Regions from separate parts of the Homo sapiens genome. Here regions 2, 3 and 4 are each linked to region 1. Evidence: promoter capture Hi-C in 16 types of primary human blood cells and fetal thymus (Javierre and others, 2016). All regions are on one chromosome and are shown on one strand. Each heading gives the region's core, a stretch centred on a gene start or on the middle of the fragment in contact. The rest is flanking DNA. Distances are from core to core; before and after follow the strand shown.

Region 1 (8,000 bases), core at 2,422-4,921:
CTGTTGATGTGTCCTCATGCCATGACAACTGGCTCTCCCACAGGGAGTTATCCAAGCGAGAGTCAAAAGGAAGGCTCAACACTTTTTGTGATCTAGTCTCCATCGTTGCGCACTGTCACTTCCACTTTATTTATCAAGAGCAAGTCACTAGGTCCAAGGAAGGGGAATTATGCTCCACCTCTTGAAGTGGAAAGTGTCAAATAATTTGTGTACATATTTTAAAATGACCACACTCATCTGTGCCAAGTTATAGGAAAATAGATTGAGAAACTATCCTTACATGATTTTTGAAGGTCTACATCAATCTCATTACCGTTTGTTATGACATCACTTTTAATGACTCCGAAATAAACTAAGATATGCCCTACCTTCTTTTATCTCTTCCACCCTATATGTTCTAATTTTCATTTTTTGGTCACATTTGTATTTTTCTGTTTTCACTTTATGATATTTTAAGTTCCTTGAGTACTGGTCACATTTCTTAGCCTCTTTATAACTCTGCTTACCTATCTTAGTGCCTGAGATATTCATTCATTCAATATACATATATCTCTTTTATTTCAGACACTGTGCTAGACACTGGGGATCCAATCAGGGGAAATAAATAGTCATAGTCCTTGTTTTCCGAGGGGTTACAGTCCACTGCAGAGAAAAGACTCTAAACATTTAATCACGTTTAAGAATATATAATTACAAGTTGAGCTACGTTTTCAGATGGAGAGGAATACAGTCTTATAGGCATGTATAAAAACGTAACGGCCAGGCGCGGTGGCTCACACCTGTAATCCCAGCACTTTGGGAGGCTAAGGCGGGTGGATCACCTGAGCTCAGGAATTTAAGACCAGCCTGACCAACATGGTGAAACCCCATCTCTACCAAAAATACAAAAATTAGTCGGGTGTGGTGGCGCATACCTGTAGTCCCAGCTACTCTGGAAGCTGAAGCAGGAGAATCCCTTGATCCCGGGAGGCGGAGGTTGCAGCAAGCCGAGATCGCACCACTGCACTCCAGCCTGGGCGACAGAGCGAGACTCCTGCTCAAAACAAAAAACAAACAAACAAACAAAAAAGTAACAGGGCTAGTGTAGGCATGGGGAAAATAGAAGATTCTTCTGAAGTTGAAATGCTGCCAGATGGGTAAAAGAAAAAGAACAAGGGTTAAGGGACTTTAAAATATTGATGTGATTAATGTTAAAATAACCTATCAGTATGTGCTCATAAATATTTTAAATTGAGCCATACTGAGCTTTCTTTCTCTGCCTTGTCCTCTCTTCTTTACTTCTTGATGTCAGAGGTGACATGTTTTGGTATGGATGGACTAGTTTGACCAGAGTAGTTGCAACTGAGTGGGAGAAGGGACTATCCCTGCCCCATACAGCTTCCTTGTTCATTGTATACTGCAAGAACCCAGTCACATTTAGAAAAATTGGCCGAACGCGGTGGCTCATGCCTGTAATCCCAGCACTTTGGGAGGCCGAGGCGGGCGGATCACGAGGTCAGGAGATCGAGACCAGCCTGACCAACATGGTGAAACCCTGTCTCTACTAAAAATACAAAAATTAGCTGGGCGTGGTGGTGTGCGCCTGTAATCCCAGCTGTTCGGGAGGCTGAGGCAGGAGAATCACTTGAACCCGGGAGGTGGAGGTTGCAGTGAGCCGAGATCGCGCCACTGCACTCCAGCCTGGCGACAGAGCAAGACTCCAACTCAAAAAAAAAAAAAAAAAAAAAAAAAAAAAAGAAAAATAGAATGGAATATTCACACAATACCCATGAGAATTGTTCCTAATAAATTTGAAGGCATCCTTTATGTGACTTTGGGTCATTAATTTACAAAAATTTGTACTTTATTTGTATATTTAGGATGTATATATTTAAACTCAAACATTCATGGCCATTGGATAAGGTGAGACCAAATGGAATCTATTTGGAGAATTTTACTCATGTTTTTTGGACAACAATTAATTGTCCCCAGGAACAATGATAGCAAGAGGTATAGCAATGAGGACCTGTAATGCAAAAATTGGAGTCATTACTACCCTTAAAATAAATATCTATTCAAAAGAACACTATTGAGTACATGCCATGTGGCAGATGTTGTGTTTAGGCACATTATCCTATTTAATACTCATGACAACCCCATTAGATAAGTGCAATTATTATGATCATTTTACAGAGATATTGAGGGAGTATGTAATTTTCCCCAAATCACAAAAATCTGAAAGTTGGCCAGGCGTCGTGGCTCACGCCTGTAATCCCAACACTTTGGGAGGCTGAGGCGGGCGGATCACTTGAGGTCAGTAGTTGGAGACCAGCCTGGCCAACATGGTGAAACCCCATTCCTACTGAAAATACAAAAATGAGCCGGGCGTGGTGGCGGGCGCCTGTAATCCCAGCTTCTCAGGAGGGTGAGGCACGACAATCGCTTGAACCCGGGAGGCAGAGGTTGCAGTGAGCCAAGATCGCACCACTACACTGCAGCCTGGGTGACAGAGTGAGACACAGACTCAAAAAAAAAAAAAAAAAAAAAAAAATCTGGCCGGGCGCAGTGCCTCACACCTGTAATCCTAGCACTTTGGGAGGCTGAGGAGGGTGGATCACCTGAAGTCAGCAGTTCGAGACCAGCATGGCCAACATGGCGAAACCCCGTCTCTACTAAAAATACAAAAATTAGCCGGTTGTGGTGGCGCACACCTGTAATGCCAGCTACTCCGGAGGCTGAGGAAGGAGAATTGCTTGAACCCGGGAGGTGGAGGTTGCAGTGAGCTGAGATCGCGTCACCGCTCCAGCCTGTGCGGCAGGAGCAAGACTCCATCTCAAAAGTAAATAAATAAATACATAAATCTGAAGGTTCTATCAGACTTCAAAGTTCCTGCCTCAGCCTACTTCAGCATCTTTATCTTGTACCCCACATCTCTACAACCCACCCCCTACTGGTCTCATTGGCCTCCTTTCTGTTCCTGGAAGTGAGTCAAGCTTTCTACCCACAACCCCCACCCCACTCCACTCCAGGACTTGCACTGTTTGTTTAGGTTTTCTTCAGTTGTTGCAAGGCTGGCTCCTTCTCATCTCAGATATCTGTTCTAGATTAATTCTTCCCACCATACTTCTCACCGTGTTTTAATTCCTTCACAGTATTTGTTAAACTCTGAAGTTTTTTTTATTATTATTTCCTATCAAATGATAAGCAGATCTACCTTTAATACCTCATTCACTGACTGAATGGATGAATAAAACTGTCTACTTCTCCAGCACGTGGAGGTCTTGGACAGTACTGTGTTATAACAAAGGCCATCTGTGTTGTGTCGACAGGCCATCGGAACTCCTTTGAGGTATTACACATTTCCTACTTCACTTCCATCTCAGTTTATTACAGAGCCTTTTATACTTCCGGGACAGCAGTGACTTAATACTGAGGCCTCTCAGGGGAAGACCGGGATAACTGAGTCCTGCTTTACCTATCTCGGCTTGCAAGAAACGGTATAGGTGGAGGCCTCTTTCAGTGTATGCCGGCGCTCTAGGTGAACCGAGACATAGAGGTGGAAGTGGAGTAGAAAGACGGGGCCAACCGGAAGGGGAGGGCTCATGGGCGAACCCACCCCTCCAGGCAGGGTTTCGCCCCTCGCCCCGCCCCTTCCCCCGCCCGGACGGCCATGGCCATTCCCGGCATCCCCTATGAGAGACGGCTTCTCATCATGGCGGACCCTAGAGATAAGGCGCTTCAGGACTACCGCAAGAAGTTGCTTGAACACAAGGAGATCGACGGCCGTCTTAAGGAGTGTGAGTGCACCTTTCTTTCCATTTAATCAAGTGCCTCGACTCGCTTCTGCCTCTGACAAAGCAGAAGCCTTTCGCCGAGCCCGGCAACCGAGCCTTAGAGATGACCAGGCCTAGGGCCAGGGACAAGGCGCTTTGTCATCCGGCCCTGAGCTTGTGGAGCAGCACTCCTTCGGGTGTAGAAATGGCCCAGTCCAGCCCGGGTGACAGAACATCGGCGGCCTTGAGGTGAAAATGAAAAAGAAGTAGAGGAGGAGTGGGGAAGTGGGCCGAGGATGTTTCCCAGGTTAGGGTGCAAGAAGGGCAGTCTTGGTGGAGTCCCGGGACTTGGAGAGGGGAAGGCGCTTGAGTCAAGTAAGCTCAAACAAGAGATGAGACTCAGGGAGTCGGCTTGTTCTTGGAGTCGAAAGACGGCCGCGGAGCTTAAGAGAGAAGTGTTCCAGTTGTCATAATAACCCATATCGTCTTGTGTTTCGTGTTGTACTGTATCAGGCATACAAATTTCCCTTACCTCCTGAGTGCTTAACTTTTTTTTCCAGTGCATTTTCATTGAAAAGCATGAGTAGTTTAATTAAATGGAGGACCATAATTACATGATTCTGTGGAGAACTGCATTTGTTGACTTTATTTAGGGTAGAATGTCAGAGAACAATCCACGTGGGTAGGTGAAGAGGTGAGGAAGGGTCTAAGTGATTATCATTCGGATTTGTAGTCGCAAATCCTAAGTGTCAGGGTGTCAATATCTTCTAAGACTATAACTTAAGATGTGCTTAAACAAGTATTGCCGATCAACAAAGTAAAAGTATGGTGCTTTCTCTGTAACATTTTGTTGTTATACATGCCACCTACTCATTACAAACAGCATTATTTCTTTTATGGTTTGAAACAGTGGATGTGAAACTTAGGTAAAGTGAAGTAGACTTACGTAAACAGTAAAGTGAGACGTAGCGACTTAAACACACTAAGATTACTGTTCAATTAAAAATGTTCAAATTGTATTATTTCAGTAAGGGAACAATTAAAAGAACTTACCAAGCAGTATGAAAAGTCTGAAAATGATCTGAAGGCCCTACAGAGTGTTGGGCAGGTAGGTGATGGAGTTTGGGGAATAGGGGGTGATGGTAATTTGCTTTTTTATTTAGCTGTTGCCAAAAAGTAATGCTTTTTATTTTCTTCCTTAGATCGTGGGTGAAGTGCTTAAACAGTTAACTGAAGAAAAATGTGAGTGATGAATTAGCTTATTAATTAGTAAAGAAACAGTCCACCTCTCTCTCACTTTTGAAATGCTTATTATTTTAATGACAATAATGCAGAGAGAGAGAGTATTTTTGAATAGACTTAAGTTTTCCTTCAACTAATGTCTCCTTGGAGGACAGAAATACAACTAAACCCTCTGTCAACGTGGGTATGTATTTTTTTACTTTCTATTTTTCAATTAGTTCTTTTATGTTTTTTCTTCTAGTCATTGTTAAAGCTACCAATGGACCAAGATATGTTGTGGGTTGTCGTCGACAGGTAATACTTTATATTTGTATAGTGCCTGATGATTGACAAAGCAGTTTCATGTAAGTTATTGTCTCTAATTCTTGAGGCAAGCAGGTGGAGCATTTATGCCCATAACTCACAAGGATGATTTGTTCAGACATAGCTAGTTATTAACAAAGCCTGAATTCAAACCATGGGCTTTGACTCCTGGCATTCCGTACTTTCTACTGTATTACATTGTCTCAGTCAGATCTGTTAATAGCCACTTAGAAATAAAAGTATTTTAGAACTGGAAAACAGACATTTTATTTTAATGTCATTTTTAAAGAGGACTTAAAAGTGTTAGATATCATCAGTTACCTGTGTTTATATTTAGACATTCAGAACTGTTACTTATGGACTGTACCATGGCCTAAGTTAATTTTGTATGAGGTCATTTAGATTAGGGTAGGGCAAGTTGAAATAATTCTAAATTTTATTTTACAGTTATCAAAGATGCCAACAAATGACCTCAAGTCATTCAGTAGTGTCTGAAATCAATTTATGTATTATTCTTTAGGAAGTGTCCTTAGATAATTCTTTTAAATTCATTGGAAGAGTTTTCTCTGTTTAATTGTCATTTCAGGTTCAGGTTTTAAAACATTCACAGAACATGGCTGTAAGGGAGAATTTAATCCAGGAACTATAAATCTCCTATTAGGATTTTGCCTAGTATATAAGCGGTTGACATTTTCTAAGTCAAAATATTAGATACCTAAACTGACAAGGGATTTTCATGTCCCTTTCAGGGCTCTGTGGATGCCGAAAGTTGGCATTTCTAAGATATTTCAGGTTGCATGAGGACAAGACTGTATTTGAAGACTAAAAAACATTAGAAAAGCCGAAGTATATATAAGTTGAGTATCCCTTATCCAAAATGCTTGAGCCAGAAATGTGTTTTAGATTTTGGCTTTTTTTTTTTCAGGTTTTAGAATATTTGTGTTGTACTGGTTGAGCATCCCTAATTAAAAAAAATCAAAAGTTTGAAATGCTCCGATGAGCATTTTCTTTGAGCATCATGTCAGCATTCAAAAAATTTCACATTGTGGAGCATTTTGGATTTTCAGATTAAGAATACTCAGCCTGTATTTCCTATAGATGTAAACATTGAAATAGCTTCATATTGATTTCTCCTCTTATTTTTTCAAGTAACCTCACTTCTTAGCCGTTTTTTCCTTAATTGTTATATTAATCCTAGTGTTTTGCCTATCTTCCTAAATTTGAAGCTCTTTGTAAAATCCTGTGACAAGTGGTCAGTAATTTATATGATTCCGAAATTGTATTGGCACGCAGTTTTTTAAACTATTAAAAAGTAACTTGGGTCGGGCGGGGTGGCTCATGCCTGTAATCCCAGCACTTTGGGAGGCTGAGGTGGGCAGATCACGAGGTCAGGAGATCAAGACCAGCCTGACCAACATGGTGAAACCCCGTCTTTACTAAAAAATACAAAAAAAAATTAGCCGGGCATGGTGGCACACACCTGTAATCCCAGCTACTTGAGGCTGAGGCAGGAGAATTGCCTAAACCAGGGAGGCAGAGGTTGCTGTGAGCCAAGATGGCGCCACTGCACTCCAGCCTGGGCGACAGAGTGAGACTCCGTACTCCATCTCAAAAAAAAAAGTAACTTTATCTTTGAAAAGTAACAACATCCTGAGAGTGAGGCAGATCTAGTAGATTCTAATTTTAGCCAGATAAGCCAAGAAATTATTTAGTATGATTCAACCTAATGTGTAATGTGTTCAGCATGTGCCTGTCATGTAGCAAAGGCATGAGTGATGGTTGCTGGGTTTTGGGGCTTTAAATTTAAAGCATTTTAATAAAAATCTCTAAGGGGAAACCGTGCATTTTTCTCTACTCTCATGAGCATTTAACACATTCTTCCCAGAAGCTGTACATTTCAAAATAAATCTGATGAGCACACCTTTAAAATGCTTCCCTTTCCTTTCCCTAAAATGTTCACTAAGGGATTTTTCTATAAATGCTTTGGTAGCAATTCCCAAAGTCACTGTACCATTGCTGCCTCAAGCTTTGTGTGTTAGTCATTTCACATTTTACACTGAGATTACACAAAGGGGCATGCTTTTAAGGAGCAGGTGGAAATCACTTTGAATTACTTATTTTATAAGCCATTTTGTTAGCATAGAGTTTATAATCTGATATTTGTGTTCTCTCTGGAGGGTAAAAATGAGTGTTTGGCTTCTAAATATTAAACTCTCGTTAGAGTGTTATTCCGTTTTTAAGTGTTGATGTAATATCTTTTGTTTTACAAAACTAGCTTGACAAAAGTAAGCTGAAGCCAGGAACAAGAGTTGCTTTGGATATGACTACACTAACTATCATGAGGTGGGTTTCTTATTCTATTTAGTTCACCTTTTATTTTCACAAAGGGTGGTTTTTATCTGAGATATATGCTTCTTGAGATCACTGAATATTTTGGCACTTTTTCCCTTTTACTAGTTTCTAATTAAGCACATCTTTATGAGATCAGCTACAGGTGCTTGCTTGAGCAAGTTATTTATATGCTATCTGTAGGCTAAGAGAAAATATATCTTTCAAAAGAAAAATACATACCTTTTCATTCTAGATATTTGCCGAGAGAGGTGGATCCACTGGTTTATAACATGTCTCATGAGGACCCTGGGAATGTTTCTTATTCTGAGATTGGAGGGCTATCAGAACAGATCCGGGAATTAAGAGAGGTTG
Region 2 (8,000 bases), core at 1,668-4,167, 860 kb before region 1:
AGTAATATTTCAACAGAACCATTAAAAGGAAAGAAAACAAGCAAGCAAAACATTAAGGCACATGAAAAGGGAAGGGTAGGATGGAGGCAGATGAGAAAAATCACTTTGTAGGAAATAGGAAATTATTGTGAAATAGACATGACTTCCAGCATATAGAGGTAGGTATAGATACAAGGAAATGCTTTTCTTTGGGGCCATACGATGACAACTGTGATCTTAATGACAGTTCCAGGCAATGCAGACTCCATCAAGAAAGAAGAATAAATTGTGTCCAATAGACTGCATGAAAATTATATTATTAATATATTTAAGAAAGATGTTTAATATAAGTTAACTGTTTACACACAGCTACCCAGAAAATCCCATCAAGGAATACAGGCTGGTCTCTGAACATTCTGTCTAATGAAGTTTCTAAGTCACTGTATGTTATTTTCCTATTGTCAAGAGGGCCTCCTTTTTAGCTCTCCTAGTTGGTTACCATGATGTCATGCTTATTTGCTCTATCCTGACCTAAATCATAATAAAATTGAGATCCTTCAAAAATCCTCCTATTCAGAGCCAGAACACTAAAAGCTTATTCAGATATGAGACTATTGTCCTGATAATATCTAGTCTAGACATAGGGATTCATGCAAGAAGGTACAATTAGAATCTTTTAGTCTGGCGTTGATGTCTTGAAATACATTTTCTAAAAAATTCAATTTTAATACATGTTATTTTGTAGAGAGAACAAGGAAGCATCTTCCCCAGGTCTTCACCAGAACAGTTCATTTGTTTCTTCTTTCTACAGCCTGTAGAGCTGTCCAAGTTGTGCTCAGCAATAATGGAACCTATGACTGGCAGGCAGAATTTCTTTTGCAGCAGCCGCAGGGCTCCGCACACGCAAACGGAAGTGCTCAGCAGCTGGGACACCCACTGTCCCAGTGCCAGAGTAGCTTTTCCTGAGGTCCCACCCCAGTGGTCACAGACCTACTCAGGGCTCAAAATTTATTTAACAAGATGGTTGGTTGGCCTATGTTACCACAAATGGCCTGTGTGTGACCCTTTTTCAGAGTACAGTTATTTGCCAGAATTTTTTTTTTTTTTTTGAGACAGATTCTCACTCTGTTGCCCAGGCTGGAGTGCAGTGGCACAATCTCGGCTCACTGCAACCTCCACCTGCTGGATTCAAGCAATTCTCGTGCCTCAGCCTCACCAGTAGCTGGGATTACAGGCACACACCACCACACCCAGCTAATTTTTGTATTTTTAGTAGAGATAGGGTTTTGCCGTGTTGTCTAGGCTGGTCCCGAACTCCTGACCCCAAGTGATCTGCCCGCCTCGGTTTCCAGAAGTGCTGGGATTACAGGCGTGAGCCACCACGCCTGGCCTATTTGCCAGAATTGAAGGAAAATTTTCTTCTCCCTCTGGAGAACTCTGCTGTTAATCTTGTTGCCACTAAGGTAGCAGGCTGAGATGTTGCAGCTAAAGACCGCAGAAGAGACTAACAACCCAATTAAGTTATAATTAGCTGAACTATTTCAGGTGTTTTTAATCAATGCTCTCCTTTCCGTAAATCATAGGAAAGGTCTTCAGGGGAGAGGGAAGAAATGATGCTTCTATATTAATGCAAATATACACTTGTTGAAGGGCTGGATGAAGGCACAAACATCTACTTGGTTGTCTTACTCTTGGAATTAATGCTGACCTCCTCTTTCTTGCTCTTCTCTCTCTCTTACCTCCTCACAGACATACCCAGACACCTGACTGCCAACTGCTATAGAAACCCCTCATATAGAACAATGAGAACACATGGACACAGGGATGGGAGCATCACACACTGGGGCCTGTCGGGGGTGAGGGGAGGGAGAGCATTAGGACAAACACTTGATGCATGTAGGGCTTAAAACCTGGATGACAGGTTGGTGGGTGCAGCAAACCACATGGCATATGTATACCTATGTAACCTGCACGATCTGCACACGCATCCCAGAACTTAAAGTTAAAAAAAAAAAAAACTCAAATATTTTGAGTGTGTCCACTCTGCTCCTGCCCTCAACCCTACTTTCTTTCAATGCCTATCCCACACTGTTATGGGGCAGTCTTTCCAACATGCAAACCCAGTCACATCAGTCCTCTTGACTAACAGTTTTAATGGTTCCTCATGTTTCCATTTTGATTGAATTGCCATGGAAGGTATTTCCTCAATTAACCCCAGCCCACCTCTTCAGTCCACCCCACCCACACAGCCTGGCCTTTTGGTCCCACTATGCCAAGCTATTCATGGCTCACAGAATAAGCCATGCTCTGCCCCAACTCATGCTTCCAAGCAGCCAGTGGCCTCAGCCTGCAAGGCCCCCTTTCTCCTCCCCACCCCTTGGTCACCACCTTGGTTTCCACCGTGGCTCTAAAGACTCTTCTGGTGACTCAGGCAAAGGAAATGTATCTCCTTTCTGTGCATCTCCTGGCTGTGTGTTCTCTTCTCAGTTCGCTCTGCTCCTTCCTACTTTGTTCTCGTGGCTGTCCCAGATATTCAACCAGTTTGATTGAAGACATTCAATTTGTTGAGGCAGAAACATGGAGCAGTTTTATCTTGCAAATGGCTGCTACCAGCTGTGTGTTCCTGTCACTGGCTCTCCTTTCCCTCTAGGGACCCAGTCCCCTTAACAATATTTGATTCTCTGTCATAACTCATAAGTCGTCACTTGTGTTTATTAAAACAATCTGGTCTGGTTTCCCATCTCATATATGGTTCAAACTCTCTCTCCCCAGGGTAAGCTGGACTAGGCTGGGTAGGGGGCAGATCTTATGTCTGAGACTGTCCCCTTCTGACTCATGATGTCACAGTGAAGAGGAGGAGGAGTTTCTCTAAGTCATTGTTTTCTTCATTGGCTTCAGTGGAGCTGAAGTTGCTGGTGACTCTGCTGTTGTTGACAGCCCTGTGTGTGTGTGTGTGGGTGGAGAGGAGTGTTATATAAAGAGTTAATATGGTCAGATGGAAGCCCCAAAACCTCCACGGAAGAGGACTCAGTTCCAAGAAGGTCCCCTGAGCATTGGTGGTTCCTTCCCGGGAGAACCTACCATAGTTTCCAGCTGACTCCCAGCTGGAGGCACCACACCATGGCCTTGGTATCTGTTCCTCTTTACCTCCTGCCACAATTTCTTTTTTTGAGGCAGAGTCTCACACTGTCACCCAGGCTGTAGTGCAATGGCATGATCTTGGCTCACTGCAACCTCTGCCTCCCAGGTTCAAGTGATTCTCTTGCCTCAGCCTCCTGAGTAGCTGGGATTACAGGCGCACGCCACCAGGCCCAGCTAATTTTTTGTATTTTTAGTAGGGATGGGGTTTCACCATGTTGGGCAGGCTGGTCTCAAACTCTTGACCTCGTGATCCTTCCACCTCGGCCTCCCAAAGTGCTGGGATTACAGGCGTTAGCCACCATGCCCAGCCCTCCTGCCACAATTTTTATTGAAACAACTTGGTGCTCTTGCTTTGATTTAAAATAGATAAAAAACACTGAATTTATTGTGAATTGTTTTTTTTCTCTTGGCTCTCTTAAAAATCTGTTTCTCTATGGGCTAAATTAGTGTATCATATGGGCCAAATCACTTTTTAAAAATAGGTAATTTTCAATCATAAATAAAGGCTGGTGCAGTGGCTCATGCCAGCACTTTGGGAGACCAAGGCAGGTGGATTGCTTGAGCCCAGGAGTTTGAGACCAACCCGAGCAACACGGCGAAGCCCTATATCTACAAAAAAATACCAAAATTAGTCAGGCATGGTGGTGCGCATCTGTGTGGTCCCAGTTACTCAGGAGGCTGAGGTGGGAGGATTGACTGAACCCAGGAGGTCAAGGCTGCAGTGAGCTGAGATCATACCACTGCACTCCAACCTGGGTGACAGTGAGACCTGTCTCAATAAATAAATAAATATCCATGGATCTTTAAACTATAATTAGATCTTAGAGGCAATCTTGCCCAGCATTTCTCAAAGTATGCTCTGAAGAACTACGAGAGATTCTGTGAAGGCAGTACTCAGTGGCCAAATACGTTTGGGAAATGCCATTCTTATTCTGTAGAACTCCCTCTCAGAGAGTCATCCCAGATGTCAGAATATCAAAAGCCCCGAGAAGTCCCATGGTAAATAAACCTGGTCAATGTTCTTGAACCTAAGATTTTGCAAAATGATTTGAGCTCTGAATTCCCCATCTGCACTTTTTACCCTGCGTGCCACCTATTGATCCAGTTTGGGACGTGCTGGCCTGAGTGATGAGTCAGTGGTATATGCTGGAAATAATATTAAGAAATGGTAGTTACAGGGCTGGATCCATCCTCTTTGTGCTCTGTAGTCCCCCGGGCACAGAGTTTTGTCTCGACATCACTGCTCCAGCATCTATAAAACATGGGACACTCCAGTTCATTGCAGCTTCCACCTTTGACAAGATAGGTATTACAAAATGACCTTGTGATTCAGCTGCCAAAAATTAACAGTAAAGCACCAGTAACTCTGTGAATCCTACTAGATTCAGTTTTTAAAATGTATAAACCATTTGTCAAAAGGCAGAAAGGTGGATATTGGAAAAGGAAAAACAGATTAATTTTAAACTACTTGACTCAGATATAATCATGAAAAATCAAGGAGGTGAGTTATCAACCATTTTAGTTTTTGTATATATTTGGAGTAATATAGAATATTTTTTACATACAATTTTTTTCACACACAAGTTCTCATCATACATATTACTAAAGATGGATAATACCTAGGTTATGAAAACCATATAAACCTGGATTAATCAATTTTTCTTATGTGGTTTTATCAGGCTGTTACAAATCAATTTTAAAAAGACAGGAAAGCAGCTAAATTTGTTGTTAATTCTCTGAAGTTGTTGGATAGAAGTAAAAATTCAACCTCAACCCCATATTAAATTCAAGCATTTGGAATCTTAATTCTAAAATTTAGAACTATAAAAAGAAGAACATTCTAAAAAAATGTGTGTGCGACCTGTTTTTTGCTTTGTTTTCTACCTAACTTAATTCTGCCACCCAGCTGAATATTTCAGGTTTCCTTGGTGGAACGCAGGCTGAGTGCTGAAGGGCTCTAGTCACCTGAGAATGGCATCTGCCTGCCCGTCACCATGCCAACACCCCTGGCTACAAAAAAGGGATTTCCCCTTTTTCCAGTCTTCCCTCCCATGTGGGACAGGTGCATGCACCCCTACTCCAGGAAGGGCACCATTCCTAATTACAATTGCTTCCTTCCCTCCACTTTTGTGTGAGAGAAGAAAGCTTGAGATGCAATCCTTTGTCTTTTCAAACATGATTCTTTTGGTTTTGTTTTGTTTTCTCGCTATTCTTACTGACGTCTTTGTGTGGTGCAGCGGCTGGGATCCCACTGCATCTACATGGCAACCAGGAAATCAGTCATTCAGAGTTTCCATGGTAACCAGAGGGGGGGAGGGGTGGAAAAATCCATTTTATCACGGTATGCTGTGTCCCTTCCTGGAAGCCTACAGAATTTTTAGACAGAGGTCATTATGAAATCAACAACAACAACAAACGCCCGTTGGCATCAAGACAGGCCTGTGAACTGGCATCCCCAGGCAGGCTGCAGACTGGGAGGGTGGGAGTGAGCATGCAGCTGACCCCACCATGAGGCACAGGGCGTCGCCTTCTCCCCTCAGCACAGAGGAGAGGTGACGAATGCCACTTGGTCTCTGCAGCGTCTGTAGAGGGAAGTCTGTAAGCGGGAGTGTCAACCCCAATTGGCAGATTCTCTGACACTTCAAGTCTGCAAAGGAAAAGCAGGTAACCGACGTTGTGTAAGAAGTGAGCCTCTTGGTTTGGGTGGGGGCACAGCTCTACTTTTATGGTAAGAGTAGCCCTGACTACGGAAGTGGGCTGAAGGGTGCTGTCCCAAGAAAAGCGGAAGTATCTGTTGAGTCTTGTTTCCTGTCACATCCTGGAGCTGAAGGTAGTCACATTTCAAATTTAAAAAAAAGAAAGTCATGTGAAGTTAACCAGTGAGATTATCTTTTACAGGCAGGATAATTAGAATCCTCAGTGGTGTAGAATCTTCCACCTACAGGCGGGTTGAGTTTTATCACAGACGAGAGGGGCCATGGACCCTCAGAAGGCCTTAGCTCCTGGATTTATTTAGTCTGACCTTTGGAGAGTCAAATTACCAAGAGGTGATCGCACTTCCAACTAAAATTGAGAATGTGCTCCTTGATTTTAAAAAGTCTTCTAATGGCGATATTCTAATAGGCCAGGACATAGGGATGTTACTCTATGAATACAGGTCCTTTTTCTTTTTTTTTTTTTTTTTTTTTTTTTTTGTAAAATGAAAAATTACCTCTCATCTTCCTTTTTAACAGTGGAAGATTAGGCTTTTCCTTTTTCCTCTTTGGAAATTGAGATGAACAAATTCTTGATTTCCTTCCCTCTTCACTCCACACTGCCCCCTCCACTCTCTTGAGTCCATCCTAGTAAATAGCTCCACCAGTCACCATTCACTTTGGAGTCTTCCTCACCCTTACTCTCCTTCCCTCACATCCAAGTCAGCAGCAAATTCTTATAGCCCTAGTTTCAAAATAGAGCCTGAATCCAATCTCTCCCCCTTGCCTTTACTATTTGTCATCCTAAGCCAAGCCAACATCATCTTTCTAAATTCCAAAAGGCCCTCCTCATTGTTCTAGTTTCTATTTTGGCTAGCGTCATTCTGGTCTCACAATGCAAGTCAGATCATGTCATGCCCTTGTTCAGACCATTTCCCACCCCGTGGCTGTACATCACACTCAGAATACAACCGTGACCAACAAAACTCTATGAAGTATAGCCCCCGACTACTGCCCCATCCTTATACCCTATGTGTGCATTCTGCTCTATCCATGCTGACCCCTCCTTGATGCTTCTGAACACACCCAACTTCTGCAGTCTCAGGGGAGAGTACTGTGCACTTGTTGAAATATTCTTCCCTAGATGTTAGGAGGCCTCCTCTCACTTCCTTCAGGTCTCTGTCTAAATGTCTTCTCCTGCAGGAGGATGTTTGTATCAGCCTGGGTATATTAGGAAATAGAAGGCACACCATTTTTAGGAGAATGAAGGGAGTATTTACAGAGGTATGTGTGGGGATCAGGAAACCAACAGCAAGATCTGATGCCACACCTAGGCTCGAATGGGCTAGTGTTGGAGGAATGCAGAGATTTGCAGTCCTGGACACCTGTGGGGCTGCCCAGAAGAAGTTGTGGTTCTTGAGGAAGGAAACCAGGACCAGAGAAGAATGCTGAGGAATAGACACACTGACCTCACTTTCTACCCGCTGGTCTAACACAGATGGAAATCAGAGATCGAGGGAGTTGGAGTAATGAAGTACTGGGTACTATACAAGTTATCTACTGGTATATAACAAATGATCCCCAAAACAGCGGTTTCATACAATATATACTTTTTTTCTCTTATAGTTTCTGTGGGTCAGGAATTTGGGAGCAGCTTATCTTAACATTTCTGGCCCTCAGTCTAACTTGAGGTTACAGTCAAAATGTCAGTTGTTTGAAGGCTTGTCTGGGGTGGAGGATCCATTTCCAAGGTGGCTCGCTTACATGGCTGGCAAGTTGGTGCTGGTTGTTGACAGGAGACCTAAGATCCTCCCCACATCGACCTCTCCACAGGGCAACTTGAGTGACCTCACAACATGGCACCTGGTTTCCCCCAGAGCAAATGCTCAAGGAGGCCAAGGTGGAAGCTACAGGGCCTGTTATGACCTAGCCTTGAAAAATCACACATTGTCACTTCAGCCACATTCTATTAGTCACACAGATCAGTTCTGACTCAGTGTGGGAAGAGACTATACCAGAGTATGAACAGTAGAAGCCAAGAAATAATTGAGGGCCATCTTGGAGAGCAAAGCAAAGTGGAGAATGAATTGAAAAGGGTGAGGGAGGAGATGGCGATCAGAGAATAACCAGCACCCTTCCTTGATCATTCAATTTAAAATACTGGGTACATTCCTGCTGCTCTGTTCC
Region 3 (8,000 bases), core at 2,828-5,327, 700 kb before region 1:
GCATGCCAAAAGACAAAAATGTTTTTAGTGAAATTTAGCTATTTCAAAGGCTTGTTCTTTATTCCGACAATTATGTAAATTGCCTTGGAACTGTTCTATAGTGATCATGTCAGCTTTAATCATAAAGTAAGTGAGAGGAGAGTCAGACAATGCATAGCGTATTTGGGATGCTTTTGTTAGACTTCAAAACCCAAGGGGATAAAGTATAAATCAACTACAACAAAATGCTATAAAATTCTAGTCCTGCTGCACATTTGTCCCTTTTGAGTTATTTTAAGAGGCATTCAAACAATAACATAATATGGAAAACATCTTAGTACGTTTGCCAAGTACAAGCATCAGTATATTAACTGTTTGGCAACCAGACTATTTAATAACATCTGCAATAACTGTTAAACATTGTTTGAATTCGGTTTTTCAAAGATAGCATTTGGTTTTTTATTTAAAAATTATAGTTTAAGTTTTCACACTTATTTTTGAGTTGTAATTGTCATCTTCCTAATTAAAATTCCATTTTTTTAAAATTTGATTTTTAAGTGTGTATGGATACTTGCATGCATGCCTACCATAATGAAATGCCTTGGTGATTAAAACCACCAACGGTGTCCTTTGAAAGGTTTGAAAATATTTTACTAGAGTGAAGTGATAAAAGCAAAGTGTAAGACAGTATGTATGATCTGCTACCCTTTGTGTCAAAAATGTGTATTCGTGCTAAGCATGCTCGTCATTTCGCAGTTTTAGTGAGGGTAAGGAATCTGTAGGGGATCGCAAGGCTCAGGTAGGAAGGAGACCTACTTTTTACCATGTGTCTTGCTGTATTTAAAGTTGTTTTTTACCAGTCACGTGCATTACCTATTCAAAAAATGGTTTTAATTGTTGCAAGCACCATTCAACATTATTAAAATACTAGAAGTGTGAAAGGTTACGTTATATTAGTGGGTTTTTTTTATTTTTAATTTAATGGGGAGTTTATTAATGAACTTAGGTAATTCTGACTTCATCAAAATGAGCATCCTTATTCTCTGGGCTCATAGAAGAAAGGATGACAGGTACACAGCCTATAAAAAGTAAAAATATTTTTGGGTTTCTTAGGCAATTCGGATTTTGGTTCAGGAGCGCCTGACACAGGATGCAGTTGCTAAGGCAAATCAAACAAAAGAGGTACGTTTCTATAAATCCTAAATAAGTTGTTAATGAACATTTCTTCTGGTATGGCCGTGATTTTAAACTTTGCATGTATCTGTTTAAGATATCCATTCTACGTTCTACAACTTAGAGAAAGGATAGCTTACTTCAGTGCTTCCTAAAGCAAATTGAATGTATTCAGTGGCTAGGGGGTCATTTTTGAGTGAAAAACTTCATGTTCCTCTCACTTTGTACCTTAAAAAAGCCACAAATAGCTCATGCACAGTCCACAAATCATGCTTGTGGCCCGTTGAAGTTTATTTAAAATGAGTTACCCATATGAAACTTACTGGATTATTTTGACTCATGCTGGAGAAGAAGGAACACACCTCACTACAAATTAGTTTTCTTTTTCTATCTAAATTCTATCCTTGCTCTTATTTCTTCAGAGTAAATTCTTGTTTTATTCAATTTCCTGGCATAAAACATGAGAAAGTAATTTGGCTAAGGTCACCTAGTTGGTAAGTGACTGAGCTCAGGCAGTCTGACTTGAGAGCCTGTGCTCTTACGGTAGGTGGGGAGAAGGGTCCATGCGTGGATGTCTGCATGAGCTTGTCAGTCTGCCCAGGTGAAGGGACAGGGGGTTCTGTTGGAGTGTAAGGTTCAAGGTACAGGTGACTGAAATGGTATCTTTCAGTCCTACCTTGTAGGCTGAGAAAAGCTATATCCCATGACTACCTTCCCCTTAAAGAGAAAATATGGAACATTTTTAGATTATATCAGAAATCCAAAGATGCCTAAAGTTTCACTGGCTGTGCAGCGGTGGAGAGACTGTCCTCAGGTCAGCAGCAGCAGTGTCTGATAACACCTGCCTCCTGCAGCAATGATGTTGTAGTGAATGCCTTGGGCACAACTATGTTGTTTGTCCTCCCTGCGCCCTTCCCCCATCTCCCAATGCCTTTTGTCCTCCAGCCCCTTTAGGCAGGCCAAGCAGTGTTAAAAGGTTACTAATGCCAGGGCAGTATCTCTGAAAGACACTGTTTTCTTTTAAAGGTTCTTACTGGCTCGTTGTATATGAATCGAGCCACTGGAAGTTGGGTTAAAGATCAGCTTATTTCACCCTCCCTATAGAACAGACAGTAAATTGTTCTGGTGTAATAAAGTCAATCATTCATTCATTCATTCCTTCAGCAAAACTATGCTTTGGAAGGCAGTGTAAGTAAAGGCTTAGCCAAATCTCTTTGCTCTTGTTTGTAAAGTAAAATTTAGTTTTATTTTTAATGCTCCCAATTTTAATTTTGGTGTCATCTCAAAAGATACCAGCCTATAACAATTTAGTGGAGTTCTTACAGTCTAGTGTACTTATAAGCATTTATAACTACTATTTGAGGCATATGGTAGTTTTCAGGGGTAGCTTGGTGGCCTGTTGGCAAAGGAAAAAAAAGTGGAGCCTCTGGTACTAGATGAACATATAAAGCCACTCAGTACAATTCTGCTCTTTAATTTTGCTCACTTGTGCTTTCGTACCCATTGGTTTCTTCAGACTTACATGTGTTAGCTGTTTTAAAGCAGACAGAGCCTACGTAGATTTACATTACTAGATAAGGCAAGAATTGAGCAGTGACTAAAGCATTTGAATAGTAACAGGTTGTAACATTGAAAGATTGAAAGTACGGGTAGTGTGTTTTTCTTGGCAGTGATTTTATATAATCAGCAGGAAGTACAGACTGTCCTCATTTTAGAATTTGTTTCTGTGAAGTTTGGCATCACCATAGTCACCATCTTTAGTATGTCCATAGGTGCTGAGTGGTTTAGTTTTTCATTTTCCTAGACTGTTTGTTTCAAAGTAACTTCCAAGTCAAGTCTTGAAAGTTAAATTATACATAATTATACATAATCTTGGCAAACACCATGCTGGCTGAAAGGTTCGTACAATTTGTAAAGACAAATTAATGTGCTCAGAAATGGAATATAAGGTACTATTTTTGCCGTTTATACTGTTGCTTACTGTCGCCAAAATAAGACAGTAACAGCCTGGCTCAACTTGCCTTCCATAGCAGTAATGACAAGGCACTGCTGCAATAAGGATATATTGTTTTGTATGCCTGGGCTAAAGGATTGGATGAGCTATAGAGCTTCCTGGTACATTTAAAGGTTAACTTTTCCCCCTAACCGGTTGAAATAGGGAAAACTCGCTAATCACAATCATCACAAAGCAAATATAAACAAAATTCCTAGTTCCCTTGCCCATGCAGCTAAAAGAGTTAAGACACCAGAATAGCTAGGTGCTTTTCAGTTTCAGTTGAGGAAAGGATGCTATTCTTAACCATAAATACTCTCATTTTGTCTTTCTTTTTTTAAAGGGCTTACCTGTTGCTTTAGACAAACATATTCTTGGTTTTGACACAGGAGGTAAGTGATTTTGTTTAAATTCAAACTATTTTTTTTACAGACTGAATACTTGGGAGGAAATAAATGGCCTTAAATGTAAAAATTATGTATTGAAGCAGTGTTCTTTTCTCATAAAACAGATGCAGTTCTTAATGAAGCTGCTCAAATTCTGCGATTGCTGCACATAGAGGAGCTCAGAGAGCTACAGACAAAAATCAACGAAGCCATAGTAGCTGTTCAGGCAATTATTGCTGATCCAAAGACAGACCACAGACTGGGAAAAGTTGGAAGATGAACACTTGAGGACTTCAGCTTCTCACCTACTTAGTACAGTTGGGAACCATACACTTCTGGCATGTTTGGAAATCAAAATGTCACATTCTCGGGGGAGGAAGCCCAGAAAATTGGGTATGTTCTAGAGATTTACCACCATTGCTTATTGCTTTTTTCTTTAATAAAGTTTAGGAAAGTAGAATTTTTATTATGTACTGTATGTTTGCATAAATCACCTTTCTCCTTTGTGGTTAAGGCATATATGCCAACCCCCAGCTTTGTCCTAGAGACAATATAGATCCTTAAGTCATAGGAAAACTTAAAACACTTTATTGGAGTAATCTAGAAAATTTTAAAATTGTTACATCTTTGGTATTTATAAATGTGATACTTTACTTTCTGTGGGTACTTCTATAGAGGCACTACAGGATCAGAAAATGCAAATTGAATCATTTTAGCACCTTTTGATATAAATAGAAATGCACTGATGCAGAGGTAAAAAATCTTAGAACTTTTGTTGGGAAACTATAAATAATTGGTCCTTTCCCATCAGTTCTGCATTGGCTTCTCCAACTGTCAAGGTTTAGGATTATATTGTTATATTGATCACATGTGCTTTAATTTCTTGGCCAGAAGGAATCCATGGCAAAAATCAGGTTTAGAGTCTTAAACTCTAATTCTTAGTTGAATGAATTTGATCTTTTAAATATTAATGATAAATGTTTACAAGAAGTTGCTTTAATAAGCAACAGTTAAAATTCTGTTACCTTTTTAAACTTGCAATAACAACCTTCATTTTTAAAAATACAGTAGTAAAGATTGAGGTATCAGCTTTTCACAAAAGTCTTTTTGCACTACAAAATGTTCATCTTGGATGCTCAGGAACGTCTAATGGCCAATTCCTTTTTTACTTTCTTTGCCTTTGCAGTCACTGTTCTTTAGGGTCCAGGTTCTGATTGTAAACTCCAAGTCTTCCTTTACATTACTGTACTTACTTTCTTCCTGTGAGAGAAGAGCAGGGGTGGGACAGGGTGGTGGGTGAGTATATTGTAACCAAGTTGCAACAGCAAGTCTTTGCATTTTGTGTATAAACTAGGTAGATTTAAGGTAGTAAAGACTGGCCCTCAGGGCAGGAAGAAGGCAATGGTGGCAGTGTCACAGGCAGCAGGGGTAATCAAATACCATATATATCCCTTCTCTACCCTGCTAATTTAAAGGAGCATCCTAAAGCATACTTTTTACCTGTTGGGCAGTAGGGGTAGACTGCAGTTATCCCGTAGAGGTGAGATCGTTGTTCTGGGAGATACTCATCAGTAAACTGGCCACTATGTTTATTTACTGATACAACACCATCCCTGGTAACAGAAAGGAAGAGTGAATTCAGGGACAGTCATTTACTAGATAAAGAAGTCAGTCAGCCACAGAAAATCAGTTGCAATAGAGGAAAATTTCTGGCAGCCTTCTCTGTCCCAGGGCTGGTGCTAAAGCCATACTGAAGTTTGAAGACCATTGCTCTAAATCCATTGCTCATCTCTAGCTGCATGTTAGAATCACATGATGAGCTATCAAATCAGAGTTGTAGGGCATGGTGTAAAGGGCTTAGACTTTAATGTTCCACAGTTCCTCATTTGAGAACTAGTCTAAATAGTATTTTTCGGTCCCTCAGACAATATGTCCACAGTGTCAAAAGCCAACTTAAGCCCTGTAATATAGCTCATGGTATCAAGGGTAGTCTTATTCTCTAAAGAACATATTTAGATTAATATGCTCCCTTTTGAGACATTATCCAATAGCTTTGCTACTTTTTAAGCTATATGTGAGCAATACCATTCGATTTCTGGGTGAAGTAAAAGGATGATTTCAAAAACATGAAAGGATGAAAAACATCCTTGAAGGATCTTATCTGCCAATGAGGAGGTGATGAAACAAAAGCCTCAGAGGGCTTAATGAGTCAAGTCAGGTACTGACTTTTGGTAAAACAAGTGGTGTGTCCTCTGGAACAGTTGGCCTTTTCAGGCTTGTCCAGAATTTGTGGGGCTCACCTCCTCCAGTCTGTGTGGTAGAAGTGATCTGCATAGCTTACGATGCTGAAGGGGTACTTGAGGTTGTTTTGAATGACACGCCGTCCAGTTCCATCAGGTAGTGTACACTCCAGTTTTTTGGTTCCTTTTAAAACAAAGGGGGAAAATGAGGTCCTTCAGCTGCTTTGCCAAAAATGATAGTGACATAGTGATAGTGACACAGTGATAGAATGGGGAAATAGGATATTTTACTTCCATTACAGTCATAGATTAGCAACTGTAAAATTACCTGTCCTATTACTAGTCTCCAGTTTTTAGTAGAGATTCAAACTTTCAATCCTTTTTTGGAAGACAGGATTGCATTTACTGAAATCTGGTAAGTTTCTGCCAAAGTAGGGCATTAAACATAATTATTTTTATAATTTGTGTGATTTCAAGCCTTAGCTTATAAATTATAACATCTGGGTAAATACTTGCCCTTTGTAAGCTATGTCTATAATTACTGAGGCAACCTTTTAACCAAAATCCTTAGTATTTTTAAAATATTTTCTAGGTAGGAGGAAAAAAGTGACTAAAATGGTAACATAACTCATATTTCAATGTAAAGGAATCAGTCTTAAAAATTTTTACAATAGCTAAACCATTCAAGAATTTCCAAGTTTCACATTTCTCATGGAGCCGATTTAAATTTCAAATCCTTTTAAGAAATGTAACTTGTTTTAAACAACTGGGTTATAAAAGTGACCTATGTACATTAGGCCCTTTTATTAGATTACAAATTCAAGAACAGTCTTTTTCATATTCTTTAGTATAGAACTAGACACACAGCATTTTTTCAGTTGTGCTGATAAAAGCAAACAAATGTAGGTTGCTAATACCCATGTTATTACTGAAGGAAGCTACCCTGCTACAATGCTTTCCAAAGAATGTCCTTAGCATTATAACAGATGTTTATAGGTAAGTTATAGTGACCCTCTCCCCGCATAAGAATAACTTCACTTAAGTTTGTCAATTCAACAATGGCTAATTCTTTTAACTGTTAAAAATATGCCAGGCACTCATGGTCAGGCAAGCAGTACAAACTTACTGCTTGATATATCCTTCCCTCCACCCAAACCCCAGAAAGTTCATTTTAAGACTCATTTACTAGTACTTAAATTTACTAGTACTTAAAAGTTTACAGACCAAAGAAAGGAGATCTAAGTGATGGGATTTCATTTTGTAGTAAAATCTGTTAGTGCTCACATTCACTGTGATGAGAGGTTATCTATTTGCATTCCATCAGTAGTATTACCTGCATCTGCCCAGCAGAGCAGTTTAGAGAAAGGGTCAAAGGTTAAGCCATTGGGCAATCCAATGTCTGTATTGATCAGAATTCTTCTGTTTTCTCCATCTAAAGATGACGTTTCAATTTTAGGAGCTTCTCTATTCCAGTCTGTCCAGTACAAGTTGCTGTAAGTTAAAAATCAAGATTGTAAAAGAATAGCCATGTAGCCTGTGGTAGGCAGCATCTAAGCAGCCCCCAGTGATCTCCATCTCCTCATGTATTATAGCCTTAAGCAATCCCCTTGAGTTTGGGCTGCATTAGTAGTGTCTTGCTTCTTCTAGTGCATAGAGTATAGCAGAAGTGATAGGCTATCACTGCCGATATTCGGTCTCAAAAAACTGGTTTCTGCCTTAGGGGCTCTCTCTTGCTCCCTTTGAGGGAAGCTGGATGCCATGTTGCAAGCTACCCTGTAAAGGGGAACATGTGCCAAGGAACTGATGTCCTTGAGGGCTGTTGGCCAGAGACATTAGTCTTGCCTGTAGCCCATGTGAGCATGCTTGGGCTGTGTCTTCCCCGAGCTGAGCCTTGTGATCACTGCAGTTTGGCCATTACCTGATTGCAGCCTTGTGAGAGACTCCATGCCTGAGGGAGCTCGGTGAAGACACACTTGGATTCCTGACTCACAGAAACTGTGAGACTAAATGTTATCTTACACTGCTGAGGGTTTGGGCAATTTCTTACACAGCAGTAGGTAACTAATACACAGCCATATTCCACTTTTACCTGTATCACAAGGTTTTCTGATTATTGTCACTATGTGGGAGAAGTCATTACTAAGTTACTATCAGAATCCCTGCCTCCAAGATACCCCTTGACTCAACTGCCCCAAAACCCTCCGTTTGTTGAAGTCTTGAATTGGATCT
Region 4 (8,000 bases), core at 2,952-5,451, 530 kb before region 1:
CAAATAATCAATAGCCTCCATCATGGCTGTCATATTGTCATTGACAATTGCCTAACACTTTTCTTCACTGACTTTCCATTATGTAAATATCTCCTCAGTTAGGTTTAATGTGATTTTAACTGTGTGAGACCCAGAAGGCTCTTGGCAGCCAAGTGAAATAGAAGCAGAGGTCAACAATAATCAACATTAATTCACCAAGTGGTCACACATGACATGTCCAAATGTCAAATACAAAATACAGAATTAGGACATTGTAAACAACATGGAGAAGATTATAATTCAGGAAGTTTTTTTTCTGTCAATCTAGCAGATCAAAAATCCAACAGTTGTTTGCAGAAAAAGCAGCTTGTATCCTGGAGTATGCTATAGAGTATACCAAACTGATGTGCCTTGAGAGGCCAAGTATCTTTTATATGTGACCTGTTGTAAAGCTCCATCTATCCTTCTATTCCAGGATAGATGCTGGAATTAGAGTGCATACAATAAAAATTGAGATACAAATGGAAATTTAAAGAGAAATTTTCTAACTTTCAAAGCCAATTGCATCTATCCATTGCCACATTTCTAGATCAGGATATAAGTACAAAACTTTTGATAAAGTTTTGATAAACCATCCAATGCCTATCTGCCCACCTATCCCCCAAAAAAAGAAAAAGAAAGAAGGGCAGTGATATTAAGTCTCTTTCTAAATATATTTAAGCCTCGTTTAAAGGAAGTGGTTTGCCTCAATGAAATTGCATTATCACCATCATTTAAGTTTTAATTGCAGAAACCAAAGATGAGTTAACTCTCTGCTTTAGGCAGTTACTATTAGAGAGGGAAAAAGACTTGGTAACTTAGTGTTAACATTACAATCAGTAATTATCCCACACTGGCAGAGCTAGCCAAAATGCTTCTACTACTACTACTACTACTACTACTACTACTACTACTACTACTAAAATCTTCCACTTGGCCAGGCACGGTGGCTCACACCTGTAATCCCAGCACTTTGGGAGGCCAAGGTGGGTGGATCATGAGGTCAGGAGATCAAGACCACCCTGGCTAACATGGTGTAACCCCGTCTCTATTAAAAATACAAAAAATTAGCCAGGTGTGGTGGCGGGTGCCTGTAGTCCCAGCTACTGGAGAGGCTGAGGCAGGAGAATGGTGTGAACCCAGGAGGCGGAGCTTGCAGTGAGCCGAGATCACACCACTGCCCTCCAGCCAGGGTGACAGAGTGAGACTCTGTCTCTACAACAACAAAAAAAAATCTTCCACTCTACTCACCTCAGTTAAAACCAGCAATGCCTTTAGTATTGCCAATGTGCAATATAGTGACCCTTGGAGCATTCCACAGCTGACAGTGCTGAGAAAATTGGGTTTCTGCTCAACAATGTCAAATTTCAAATATTTGACTACTAAAATTTTTCATAATAAAATTGAAAATTGAAATATTAACTGAAACTTTACACTTATTCTCATATCTCAGAAATTTAATCAAATGATGGTGCTATTTGGTGTTAGCCTTGGTTTTGGACAAACATTGATTTTAACATTCACCCATTTAGCATTTGGCCAAAACATGTATGTGCTGCATCTCCATTTTCCTTCTGTCTTCATGGACTTTAATTTCTCAATTCCTTTACTGTTCTTTTAGTGAGATTTTTGTTTGTTTGTTTTTGAGATGGAGTCTTGCTCTGTCACCCAGGCTGGAGTGCGGTGGCATGATCTCAGCTCACTGCAACCTCTGCCTCCTGGGTTTAAGCTATTCTCCTGCCTCAGCCTCCTGAGTAGCTGGGACTACGGGTGTGCACCACTATGTGTGGCTAATTTTTGTATTTTTAGTAGAGACGGGGTTACACCATGTTGGCCAGGCTGGTCTTGAACTCCTGACCTCACGTGATCCGCCCACCTTAGAGTCCCAAAGTGCTGAGATTACAGGTATGAGCAACCATGCCCAGACTTTTTAGTGAGATTTCATAAGGGAGCAAAAGTAAATACACATGATTAATTAGTATATACTATGTTTTTAAACCTTGTTGGTTTCCTTAAGAATATGATTGTCTTAGTCAGTTTGGCTTCCTATAACAAATGTACCATAGACTGAGTGGCTTAAACCATAAACATTCATTTCTCACAGTTCTGGAGGCTTGGAAGTTCAAGCTCAAGGTACTGGCAGATGTGGTGTCTGGAGAGAGCCTGCTTCCTGATTTGCAGAAGGTCATCTTCTGGTTGTATCCTCACATGGCAGAGAAAAACAAGCTCTTCTGTCTCATCTTCTAGGGGCACAAGTCCTATTCACGAGGGCTCCATCCTTACGACCTAATTACCTCCCAGAGGTAATTACCTATGACCTAGTTACCTCTTACTACCATCACATTGAGGATTTCAATATATGAATTTGGGGGAACACAAACATTCAGTCAACAACAATAATCATCATAATAGTTGACACATACACAGTGCCTCTTATGTTCCAGAAACTCTTTTGCATGCTTTACCTATAATAACTCTTCTAACACCTCAAGTGAGGAACTTGCCCACCTTAGCTCAGCTAGTAAGTAGAGCCAGGACTCAAACAAAGCATTTTGGCTCTGGAGTCTATACTTTTAATCATTAGACTACTGCTTCCTGAACAGCTTAATTTGTCATTAAATAATTTTCTACAATACTATTTTAGGTACTCTTTAGCATTCTATTACATGGATAAATAACTTATATTAAAAATCTCTCGTAATTGAACATCTAGGTCATTTCTATTTTTCCTCTATTAAGCAATGTTGACCTGAATGAAATTATAGCCTGTCTTTGTGCCACCTGATGATTTTCTTGCATTAAGGATGTGTATTTTAACCACAGCCACTTAGAAGTGTTATAAAATGTAGTACAACCCACCCCGCTGCCTTCAGAACAGGACGCAAACAAGGCTGTAGCTCTGTCTTGCTTGGACAATTCTCTACTGGCACCTACCAAGCTGCGAAGCTTCCTTCCTGTCTTGAGGTTTCACAGCCAGTTGCTTTAAATTCCCCCCAGTGTTCCTTGCCTTGCAGTGCTCACTACTAAGCAACAAACACATACACACAGAGACCACTTGTCTTAGTTCCACAAACTTCTCATATAGCAACGAGAGATGCTGGAGGTAATAAACTAGGTAACTTACAGGTTCAAAGCCTCACATTACTAACTGATGCTGGCTTCAAGCATTCTCGCCTTTCCTGAGCACTTCCTTATTCATCTCTTTCAGATGCTTTTCCATTTCCTGTGCTTTAACTGACACTCTTTTCTATTAGGTTAAACCACAGGAAACTGCTGATACTCAGCCACTTTTAACCTACAAAAATTAAAATTACACCTGGTTCAACCTAACGAGGTTGAGATGTTTATTTACCCATTGGGGAACATGGTAACAGTTTGTGATACTGTAAAGCTGTTCAAAACCTGTGAAAACCCTTCCTATCCTTGAGGAATTATTTTAAATCTTCATCTCTATGGAGTAAATGCCAGAAACTCACCTTCCCAGGCTGCTCCAATCAGATACAAGATTTTCTACTCAGAAAAGAATGACAGGAAGAGCTATTCTGCCATTGAGGAGAGACAGGAATAGGGGTGGGAACTGGGCATGGGAGGGTTCTTGACCTGGGTGGTGGTTATATGGAAGCGTGGTCTGTGATAATTCTTTTCTATTCTGTGTTATTCTGGAACTTTAAAAAAGTTTTGGAAACTCAGTTGTGGCAAGGGTAGGGGTGAGACATTGAGCTACCAGTCTTGGTGGTGTCCGGATTCCTGTGTCAGCAGTGTGAGCTGCAGGATCTGTATCCAATGCTGCCCTCTGGCCTCCATGGAGCAGTCCTGTAGGCAATTTTGGCATAGTTCTTGGTGTACAGTCTCCATCACTGTTTCTCTGGCTCTCCTGGAGTTTCTTTAAGATACCAAATATCCTTTAGTAAACATTCTTTCTGCTCTAATTAGCTATAGAAGGTTCTTATTTTGTTGTTGTTGTTTTGTTTTGTTTTAAGAAATAGGATCTCACTGTGTCACTCAGGCTGGAGAGCAGAGGTGCAATCAGAGCTCACTATAGCCTTGAACTCCTGGGCTCAAGTGATTCTCCCACTTCAGCCTCCTAAAGTGCTGGGATTACAGGCATGAGCCACTGCACCCTGCCGGGTTCTTGTTCATGACTAGCATCTAAGAGCCCTAGCTGATAAAAGGGAATTCAGGTTCTGTTCAGGCTAGACCTTCACCTGACACTGAAAATGCTGTCCTCAAGGCCACCTGAATGCTGGCTCTGTGGAGTACTCTATGGTACTCCAGACTCTAGTGCTCCCTCTGTTCTACAATCAGAGCATGCAGGGCTGAAAGTATATACAGCATGCCCTGCTGCTTTCAGCTGACTATTATTAGCTTCTCTAAAAGTCAATTTTTTACATTAATCTCCACTACTTTCTCCTCTATAAACCCCTGTTCCCCAAGAAATACAAGCACACACACACAACCACCAGCAGCAGCAGCAGCAGCACCCCCATCACCACCACCACAACCTGGAATACCCAGGACTATGAAAAAGTCATGACACACCACGTCTCACTAGAATGTAATCTTCATGGGCAGACTTGTCTATTTTGTTCAGTTCTCTATCACAGCATGTAGAATGGTGCCAGGCAGATATTAGGTACCCAGTAAATATCTGTTAAATGAATGAATATCTTGCCCTAAAATACATCTATCCATTTGTTTATCAAACGAAGAACAAATGCTTATGGAGACATGGGCTCAGGCACTGGTGTGTGTATTAGGAAAGTCATGGCTCTGCCCATGAGCAGTTCGAAATGAGTTAACGTTACTAATGACCCCCACAATATATGTTTTGTCACTTCTGTGAGCCCAATTGGAGCTTCTTTTTAGTGAAGCTCTGGGGCAGTACAGGTAGGAGGTCTTCATAACCAAGAGGCAATGCCTTCCGGCTCTTCATCTCAGTTTTAGGCCAAAGAGAAGGGAGCCAGTGACAACATGAACTGGTAAATGAGATATCCAGGTATGTGCCCACCACTTTTGTCCAGGCTAATTCCCTGGCTAGATGGCTGGGAACCAACTTCAACCATGAATAAGGCAATATCAGGTGGCTAGACAGCAATCAGGTCCTCTCACTCCCCAGTGGCTCTTCTTCAGGCTTAGAATTAATCCCCAACTCCTCACCCTTTTACTAGCATAGCTATGAAGTTCCTAAACATGTTTAACAAAAAAATTTATAGATTAGAAAGACCAGAGAGAACTTGGCTCAAGATATTTTTCTGCATATAGTCAGAATATAAAAGCTCTGGGTGTATTCCTATTTGATTTTTAAAAAGATCAGCTTAATCAAACTGACAGTAGCTGAGAGAGAGAAAAAAAAGAGTATGAGATACTTAATAATGTGAGATATATTTAATAACTATCTGGCAGAAAAGTAAGTCTTATCAGGAAGCTTTATTTTATTTTATTTTTTTCGAGACAGGTCCTCACTCTGTTGCCCAGACCAGAGTGGAGAGACACGATTATGGCATACCACAGCCTCGATCTCCTGGGCTCAAGTGATCCTTCTACTCTAGCACCTCATGCAGCTGAGACCACAGGGATGCGCCACCATGCTGGGCTAATTTTTTAGCTTTTTTGTTGAGACAGGATTTCACTATATTGCCCAGGCTGGTTTTGAACTCCTGGGCTCAAGCAATCCTCCCACCCTGGCCTCCCAAAGTGCTGGGATTACAGGCATGAGCCACCACACCTGGCCATCAGGAAAATTTTAAGACACCATCTGGAGCATGTGATCTGTTTTCAGTCTTCCAGAGGTGTATTTACTGTGACCCTAATGAAACTAAAGCCTTAGAGCCCCTTATTTACACAAGCACCTTTCAAATCTCTGTACCTAATTTTATATTTTTTAAATATGTTTTCTCAATGAAGGACACAAAGTTATTTAAGCGTTAGGCCCTACAAAATCAGGTCTGAATGTGCATGCTCCATATGGAAAGAAGGACTAAAAATTAAATAGCCTTGACATAAATATTGGCCCTGACAAGGAACTATGTCCCTACATCACAAATCTGCTTAGCTTTCTTCGCTCACGTTTGGGGTTAGATTGGATTGGTAGTGCATTGGTCTATTCTCACACTGCTAATAAAGACATATCCGAGACTGTGTAATTTGTAAAGGTAAGAGATTTAATGGACTCACAGTTCTGTGGCAAGCCAGGTCTCATTAATGCAAGCCACCGTAACAACTGTTTCAGTACTGACTGAGTTGTTAAGTTAAATATTAAAAGCTAAAAGAGCCAGTGTCCTTATACAAAGGCTAGAATGTAACAAAAAGCCCACCAAGAGTTTTGCCTAGGCCTTTCCTCTGCCTTAAAGCATGATAAGATAACAAAGGAATTCTTAACAGGACCTGTTTAGGATTAAACAAGTTTTATTGGGGGTCTGAAGACACTTCCCAGGCCTCTGCAAACAAGTTTATTGCGGGTCTGAAGGAACTCCCCAAACCTCCATGATTTAGCAGGAGACAAGATAAGGGTAATCACCCCAGCACCTGGACCCATTTAGATTAAGTAAATTTACTGAGGCTCCAGAGGAAAGTCTTCGGGACTCAGATCTTAGTTATAGATTAAAAGAAGTTAATCACTATGTCTTCAGATGAATGCACACTTACATGTAGACATAAAGCTTAGAAGGTATATAATCTCTGGAAAACTAATTTTGAGTTGGTCTGGTGATATTTTCTGGGCCTTCTCCCTGTAACCTGTTACAGAAATAAAAACTCTGCCCTTTCCCCTTTCATCAGCATCTCATTATTGGGCCATGAGAATAAGCAGCCTGACCCTCAGTTTGGTCCGGGAACAGTTCCACATGGCTGGGGAGGCCCCACAATCATGCTGGAAGGTGAATGATATGGTTTTGCTGTGTATCCACCCAAATCTCAACTTGAATTGTATCTCCAAGAATTCCCACGTGTTGTGGGAGGGACCCGGAGCAGGTAATTGAATCATGGGGGCCAGCCTTTCCTGTGTCATTCTCATGATAGTGAATAAGTCTCACGAGATCTGATGGGTTTATTAGGGGTTTCTACTTCTACTTCTTCCTCATTTTATCTTGCTGCTGCCATGTAAGAAGTGTCTTTCATCTCCCGCCATGATTCTGAGGCCTTCCCAGCCATGTGGAACTGTAAGTCCAATTAAACCTCTTTTTCTTCCCTGTCTCAGATATGTCTTTATCAGCAGCATGAAAACAGACTACTATAGTGAATGAAGAGCAAAATTATGTCTTACATGGCAGCAGGCAAGTGGGTATGTGCAGGAGAACTCCCCTTTATAAAATCATCAAATCTCATGAGATGCATTCACTATCATGAGAACAGCATAGAAAAAGCCCACCCCCAGATTCAATTACCTCCCACCAGGTCCCTCCTATGACATATGGGGATTATTACAATTCAAGGTGAGATTGGGGTGGGGACACAGAGCTAAACCATATTAATCTGCCCCTGGCCCCTCCAAATCTCATGTCCTCACATTTCAAAACCAGTCATGCCTTCCCAACAGTCCCCCAAAGTCTTAACTCATTTCAGCATTAACTCAAAAGTCCATAGTCCAAAGTCTCATCTGAGACAAGACAAGTCCCTTCCACCTATGAGCCTCTAAAATCGAAAACATGTTAGTTACTTCCTAGATACAATGGAGTGGTACAAGCATTGGGTAAACACAGCCATTCCAAATGGGAGAAATTGGGCAAAATGAAGTGCCTTATGCAAGTCTGAAATCCAGCGGGGCACTCAAATTGTAAAGCTTCAAAATGATCTCTTTTGACTCCATGTCTCAAATCCAGGTCACGCTGATGCAAGAAGTGGGCTACCATGGCCTTGGGCAGCTCCACCTCTGTGGCTTTGCAGGGTACACCCCCCACTCCTGGCTGCTTTCCCATGTTAAGTGTCTGCAGCTCTTCCAGGTTCATGGTGCAAGTTATCAGTGGATCTACCATTCTGGGGTCTGA

What was found. The method cuts DNA at HindIII sites, captures the fragments that hold promoters and counts their contacts. A CHiCAGO score of 5 or more calls a contact.
Region 2: a fragment that was not itself captured here is called in contact with the fragment with the promoter of PSMC6 in region 1 in 1 of 17 cell types (total B cells); the score reaches 5.1 in total B cells.
Region 3: a fragment that was not itself captured here is called in contact with the fragment with the promoter of PSMC6 in region 1 in 2 of 17 cell types (naive CD4 T cells and neutrophils); the score reaches 5.9 in naive CD4 T cells.
Region 4: a contact is called between a fragment that was not itself captured here and the fragment with the promoter of PSMC6 in region 1, in 1 of 17 cell types (total B cells). The highest score is 5.2, in total B cells.

What each region holds. Positions count from the first base shown.
Region 1 is chr14:52,703,529-52,711,528 of GRCh38, forward strand. PSMC6 (proteasome 26S subunit, ATPase 6) reads left to right here and starts at 3,672. Exons shown (of 14, transcript NM_002806.5): 1 at 3,672-3,776; 2 at 4,781-4,860; 3 at 4,955-4,994; 4 at 5,236-5,288; 5 at 7,573-7,640; 6 at 7,882-7,996. The coding sequence starts at 3,692. RefSeq lists enhancers at 3,223-3,332, 3,353-3,412, 3,713-3,962, 3,983-4,032. The HindIII fragment of the contact is 4,351 bases long and covers 2,971-7,321 here.
Region 2 is chr14:51,841,595-51,849,594 of GRCh38, forward strand. It overlaps a transcript of GNG2 not described here. Among named protein-coding and RNA genes, the nearest start is that of GNG2, 15 kb to the right of the region's middle. RefSeq lists enhancers at 2,593-2,732, 2,773-2,862, 2,883-2,982, 5,517-5,616, 5,947-6,006 and 1 more. The HindIII fragment of the contact is 4,692 bases long and covers 572-5,263 here.
Region 3 is chr14:52,000,706-52,008,705 of GRCh38, forward strand. RTRAF (RNA transcription, translation and transport factor) reads left to right here. Exons shown (of 8, transcript NM_016039.3): 6 at 1,093-1,161; 7 at 3,489-3,537; 8 at 3,657-8,000. The coding sequence ends at 3,811. NID2 (nidogen 2) reads right to left here. Exons shown (of 22, transcript NM_007361.4): 19 at 7,105-7,262; 20 at 5,832-5,955; 21 at 5,032-5,144; 22 at 4,104-4,791. The coding sequence ends at 4,781. Among named protein-coding and RNA genes, the nearest start is that of RTRAF, 15 kb to the left of the region's middle. The HindIII fragment of the contact is 8,552 bases long and covers 1-8,000 here.
Region 4 is chr14:52,173,145-52,181,144 of GRCh38, forward strand. No RefSeq gene overlaps it. Among named protein-coding and RNA genes, the nearest start is that of LINC02319, 52 kb to the left of the region's middle. The HindIII fragment of the contact is 2,479 bases long and covers 2,963-5,441 here.